2 separate regions of the Homo sapiens genome follow, and region 1 is linked to region 2. Evidence: promoter capture Hi-C in 16 types of primary human blood cells and fetal thymus (Javierre and others, 2016). All regions are on one chromosome and are shown on one strand. The core of a region is centred on a gene start or on the middle of the fragment in contact, and the rest is flanking DNA. Distances in the headings are between cores, read along the strand shown. Region 1 overlaps CNOT2 (CCR4-NOT transcription complex subunit 2). Region 2 holds the start of LYZ (lysozyme).

Region 1 (3,248 bases), core at 670-3,169, 1.0 Mb after region 2:
TTGTAGTTCATCAATGTGAAAAATTTTAGTTAACTTACTCAGTATAACTTACCACTTTGTGGAAGTTACAATTAGACTTTTTTTCCCTGTAACTACACATTTTGAAAACAAAAATGCCAATTTTAATTTCAGAAGAATGATAACAAATTTTCTTCACGAATTCAGATAGTCAACTTGAACCAAGCAATAAAATTATTTTAATTCCTAGCTAGGGCTGGGAGAGGGGGAGTAGTGCTACACAGTGTATTAGGGCAGGATGTCATGGTTGTGGTGGTGATTCTGGTGTTTGCTAATTTTTACTGATAAGCAAATAACCTCTGTGTCTTAATTACTGTACCAGTCACATGAAGGCAACCTTTTCAGGCTAAAGTCACCATGGTGTACCTTCTTTATAAACTCTCAGGGGACTGATTTTTTTTTTCCTTTTTCTTCACCTTATACCAAGAGAGAAGGGGACTGAATTCTTTCAGCATTTCTGGATTGCCTTGTAATGAAGTAAATGAATCTGTTTTGGATCTTGGACTAAAAATATTAAAAATAATGTGTTACACTACAAAAGACACAGGCTTTTTGTCACATGGAGGCTTTTTGTCACATGGGTCTGGATCCTAATGCTAGGTGTGCCGCTTACTGATGACTTGTCCAAGTTACTTGTAAGCCTCATTTTCTTCAGGTACAAAATGAAAATAATGATATCTGCTTTACAGAATTATTACAAAGATTAGAATAAAATTAGCTGTATCTCTAATTTTAGCACATACTAGGCTTTCAATAAATTCTGCTGTTAGGTCTGTAATATCTTTAAATTTATTTAAGTGTAATATCTTTAAATTTTAAATACTTGGTGTTCCATCTTAAAATTTGGTCATTATAGTCTAGGTTTTCATTTTAATTTAATAATGGAAATACTCATCATGGAATCAGTTTGAAACCAGACAGATAAGGTAAAATATGTTAACCCATGGTAGCTAATGTCACTTGTTGCCTTAATCTTTAATACATAATACATATTAAGCTTCATAATTCTTTAAGTTGGATTATGCAGTAATTTGTGCTAATTCAGATGGTAGAATTGGTAAGAGGCTTTTAGAGCCTCTTGCTTATTGGGGTTGCAGAGGTATTTGTTGTTTGCATTTTTTTCTAATATACATAGCTATTCTGCATCTCTATTCTTGATCTTGGGTGGGAAGTATCATGAAGAAATTATGTCACCATTCTTAAATTTTAAAACTCATGAAGTTAATACAGTATTTTGAAAGTTTGATTAAAGTGAGCTGCTATCTAGTTTTCAAATGTTCCTACAGCAGAACCATTGTCTAGTTTTCGGTGGCAGTTGATTTATATTTGAGTCAGGGTTTTGGGTTTGTGAAATGCAAGTCTAGTGATGTGTGAGTTTTAAGTTCATTATTTTCCCCAGATTTTAATGAGGTTAGAATAATTTTATGTGTTTTCCTTTTTTTTTTTTTTTTAGACGGAGTCTTGCTTTGTCATCTGGGCTGGAGTGCAGTGGTGCAATCTTGGCTCACTGCAACCTCCACCTGCCAGGTTCAAGCGATTCTCCTGCCTCAGCCTCCTGAGTAGCTGCTACTACAGGCGTGCACCACTACGCCCAGCTAATTTTTGTATTTTTAGTACAGACGGGGTTTCACCATGTTGATTGGTAAAGATGGTCTTGATCTCCTGACCTCGTGATCTGCCCACCTAAGCCTCCCAAAGTGCTGGGATTACAGACGTGAGCCACTGTGCGCGGCCCTGCTTATTTTTTAATATAAATGTAATAAAGACAATTTGGAAAATTATTTCTAAACTTTTTTCATGGACAAAATCTTTAGGTTTTTATACTTCGTTGAAGGGGGCTTTATTTTAAATATCCTGTAATTTCCAGTGATTCAGAGATACAGTAATTGCCCCCTCTTTTTTTAAGTTAAAAACAATACACAACATTTCAGTGTCAAGTGGTCCATTAGTAGTCTCTTGACTTACACACAGAAAGCCTGTCTGTATTTTTTGTACTCATTGGTTAGAAACTACAGCACATTATTTTTCTTCAAGCTGTATTTTATGTAGAGGAAAAACAGTTGGTATATCTGTGTTGATGTTGATTCATATATATTGGGTATTTTATTTATTTTTATAGTAAAATGTATTTTGACAAATGTAAAATGAAAAGGGGAAGATATCTAAATTCTTGAATTTGTTTTTATAGGAGTTCCATCTGGAATATGACAAATTAGAAGAACGGCCTCACCTGCCATCCACCTTCAACTACAACCCTGCTCAGCAAGCCTTCTAAAAAAAAAAAAAAAAAAAAAAAAAGACTTCCCTTTTCTTGGGGTATGGCTGTCTCAGCACAATACTCAACATAACTGCAGAACTGATGTGGCTCAGGCACCCTGGTTTTAATTCCTTGAGGATCTGGCAATTGGCTTACGCAAAAGGTCACCATTTGAGGTCCTGCCTTACTAATTATGTGCTGCCCAACAACTAAATTTGTAATTTGTTTTTCTCTAGTTTGAGCAGGGTCTGAATTTTTTCATTTATTTCCTTTTTTGCCAGCAGACAGACTTGAGTCTGTAAAGACAAGCAAATACACTGACAGAAGTTTACCATAGTTTCTAAAATGTAAAAAAGAAAACCCCCAAAAGACTCAAGAAAATTAGACCACAAATTTTGCATTGTTCATTGTAGCACTATTGGTAATAAAATAACAAATGTTTGTGCATTTTTATGTGAAGATCCTTCTCGTATTTCATTTGGAAAGATGAGCAAGAGGTCTGCTTCCTTCATTTTACTTCCCCTTCTGTTTTTGAAAGGCAGTTTCGCCAAGCTTAATGCAAGAATATCTGACTGTTTAGAAGAAAGATATTGCCACAATCTCTGGATGGTTTTCCAGGGTTGTGTTATTACTGAGCTTCATCTTTCCAGAATGAGCAAAACACTGTCCAGTCTTTGTTACGATTTTGTAATAAATGTGTACATTTTTTTTAAATTTTTGGACATCACATGAATAAAGGTATGTATGTACGAATGTGTATATATTATATATATGACATCTATTTTGGAAAATGTTTGCCCTGCTGTACCTCATTTTTAGGAGGTGTGCATGGATGCAATATATGAAAATGGGACATTCTGGAACTGCTGGTCAGGGGACTTTGTCGCCCTGTGCACTAAAAGGGCCAGATTTTCAGCAGCCAAGGACATCCATACCCAAGTGAATGTGATGGGACTTAAAAGAAGTGAACTGA
Region 2 (3,294 bases), core at 166-2,665:
ACGGAGTTTCACCATGTTGGCCAGGCTGGTCTTGAACGCCTGACCTCAGGTGATCCACCCACCTCAGCCTCCCAAAGTGCTGGGATTACAGGCATGAGCCACTGCACCTGGCCCTATTTATTATTGAAGAATCAAAATTAGGCCTAGCCTGAAAAATGAGATTATTCTTGATTTTTGAACAGGGTCCTTGAACTGTCATTTAAAACCAAATCTGGTAATCTTTAGAGGCCACTGATGAAAAATAAGGGTAACTACAAAGTGATGACACTTTGTGTGGCTCAGAATCTGTCCTCTTAGGCAGATACAGAAGTGCAGTTCTTTTTGAGTTCTGGTAGCATTGTTTTAAAAGCTGTGCACAGCCTCCTGAGATTGCTATTTTCAAAGGTAGCATTTAGTTGGATATATGTTTGGGTAGGTTTTATTTTTAAAATGCTGTTGCTTTCTAATGACCCCTTATGTTCTAATATGGAAAGGGGAGGCAAAGTATTGTGAAAAGTAGTTGGTAAAGTAGGCCGGATGTGGTGGCTCACACCTGTAATCCCAGCACTTTGGAAGGCCGAGGCGGGCGGATCACGAGGTCAAGAGATCCAGACCATCCTGGCCACATGGTGAAACCCTGTCTCTACTAAAAATACAAAAATTAGCTGGGCATGGTGGTACATGCCTGTAGTCCCAGCTACCTGGGAGGCTGAGGCAGGAGAATTGCTTGAACCCGGGAGGCAGAGGTTGCAATGAACTGAGATTGCGCCACTGCACTCCAGCCTGGTGACAGAGTAAGACTCCATCTCAAAAAAAAAAAAAAAAAGGTAGTTGGTAAAGTTGTTCACATGAACCTTATTTATAATAGTAAAACACTGATTTATAATAATAAAAAATTTGCTATAGTAACAAAAAGAGTCTAGAGTAAGAAACTAGCTGAGCAACGTGGTGTCACACTATACACCCATTAAGACAACAGGCACATGTGTCATGTCCATTTTGTGGAAAAGATATGTAAAATAATTTTAAGTAAAAAAGATAAATATAAAAAAGTGAATGCATACAAAACAATTTCACAAAATTGAATGTTACTCAAAAATCACAGCTCATTTTAAGCTGCACAAAATAGTCATTTTTTTCTTTATAATTGCTCAAATTCATAATCAAACAGAAGAAAGTTCCTGTCTTGGAAGTAGTGCTATGCCCCAATTCTTCCAGAGCCAGTACTTTAAACAATTCCATTTCATTATTTTCCTGTAGACTAATTCTTAGGACATCAGCATATCTCTCTTCAAGCATTAAAAAAATCTCTTTAGAGTCAGTGGATCAATAGACAGTTCCTGTTTTCCACACAACTGAAAGGGTGGAGCCCCCAAACCACAAGGGGAAGAAGGAAGTTAAAAGATGTTAAATACTGGGGCCAGCTCACCCTGGTCAGCCTAGCACTCTGACCTAGCAGTCAACATGAAGGCTCTCATTGTTCTGGGGCTTGTCCTCCTTTCTGTTACGGTCCAGGGCAAGGTCTTTGAAAGGTGTGAGTTGGCCAGAACTCTGAAAAGATTGGGAATGGATGGCTACAGGGGAATCAGCCTAGCAAACTGTAAGTCTACTCTCCATAATTCCAGAGAATTAGCTACGTATGGAACAGACACTAGGAGAGAAGGAAGAAGAAGAAGGGGCTTTGAGTGAATAGATGTTTTATTTCTTTGTGGGTTTGTATACTTACAATGGCTAAAAACATCAGTTTGGTTCTTTATAACCAGAGATACCCGATAAAGGAATACGGGCATGGCAGGGGAAAATTCCATTCTAAGTAAAACAGGACCTGTTGTACTGTTCTAGTGCTAGGAAGTTTGCTGGGTGCCTGAGATTCAATGGCACATGTAAGCTGACTGAAAGATACATTTGAGGACCTGGCAGAGCTCTCTCAAGTCCTTGGTATGTGACTCCAGTTATTTCCCATTTTGAACTTGGGCTCTGAGAGCCTAGAGTGATGCAGTATTTTTCTTGTCTTCAAGTCCCCTGCCGTGATGTGGGATTTTTATTTTTATTTTTATTTTATTTTATTTTATTTTTAAAGACAGTCTCACTGTGTGGCCCAGGCTGGAGTGCAGTGGCATGATCTCAGCTCACTGCAACCTCTGCCTTCTGGGCTCAAGTGATTCTCGTGCTTCAGCCTTCTGAGTAGCTGTGACTACAGGTGTGTACCACCACACCCAGCTAATTTTTTGTATTTTCAGTACAGATGGGGTTTCACCATGTTGGCCAAGCTGGTCTTGAACTCCTGGCCTCAAATGATCTGCCCACCTCAGCCTCCCAAAGTGGTAGGATTACAGGTGTGAACCACTGCACCCAGCCGACATGGGATTTTTAACAGTGATGTTTTTAAAGAATATATTGAATTCCCTACACAAGAGCAGTAGGAACCTAGTTCCCTTCAGTCACTCTTTGTATAGGATCCCAGAAACTCAGCATGAAATGTTTTATTATTTTTATCTACTCTACTTGATTAACTATCTTTCATTTTCTCCCACACAATTCAAGATGTGCCATGAGGAAAAGTTATTTTATAGTTTAGTACATAGTTGTCGATGTAATAATCTCTGTAGTTTTCAGATTGAATTCAGACATTTCCCCTCAATAGCTATTTTTGAATGAATGAGTGAAGGGATGAAATCACGGAATAGTCTTGTTTTCAAGATTCTAACTTGATATCCAAATTCACCTTTAGATATTATAAGAAAATTTCTATCAGAAAATCCTTATGTTTTTCTGATTAAAAAAAGCATTTTTCCATCAGCCTATGTATCTGCTATGAATTTACAAAATCTACTCAACAGCTCTGTTGATTTTTCTGTTCTTGGCTGAATGTTGCCTGAGGGATGGGAGCACGGGAAGGGTAAAAGCAATGGAACAAACATGTATTTTAATATTTTAAAAGTATGTTATATTGTTCGTTGGTGTTACAAGATGATTTGCATTACAAAAGGATTCTCTTACAAGTCCCTTATCTTAACACTAAAGTGCTAAGATATTTTATAAGTAAATCTTTATACTTATAAAACAAATCAGTAAAATAGAAGTAGCTAAGTAGAACTGATTTTGCTATAGAGTATAAGTCACTTAGTGTTGCTGTTTATTACTAAAAATAAGTTCTTTTCAGGGATGTGTTTGGCCAAATGGGAGAGTGGTTACAACACACGAGCTACAAACTACAATGCTGGAGACAGAAGCACTGATTATGGGATATTTCAGATCAATAGCCGCTACTGGTGTAATGATGGCAAAACCCCAGGAGCAGTTAATGCCTGTCAT

What was found. Contacts are between HindIII fragments. The CHiCAGO score rates a contact against its expected background, and 5 or more counts as called.
Region 1: a contact is called between a fragment that was not itself captured here and the fragment with the promoter of LYZ in region 2, in 1 of 17 cell types (M2 macrophages). The highest score is 5.6, in M2 macrophages.

What each region holds. Positions count from the first base shown.
Region 1 is chr12:70,351,623-70,354,870 of GRCh38, forward strand. It overlaps CNOT2 (CCR4-NOT transcription complex subunit 2), which reads left to right. Exons shown (of 16, transcript NM_014515.7): 16 at 2,207-3,248. The coding sequence ends at 2,293. Among named protein-coding and RNA genes, the nearest start is that of KCNMB4, 13 kb to the right of the region's middle. RefSeq lists a silencer at 413-613. The HindIII fragment of the contact is 1,812 bases long and covers 1,014-2,825 here.
Region 2 is chr12:69,346,966-69,350,259 of GRCh38, forward strand. It overlaps LYZ (lysozyme), which reads left to right and starts at 1,416. Exons shown (of 4, transcript NM_000239.3): 1 at 1,416-1,579; 2 at 3,143-3,294. The coding sequence starts at 1,444. The HindIII fragment of the contact is 11,988 bases long and covers 1-3,294 here.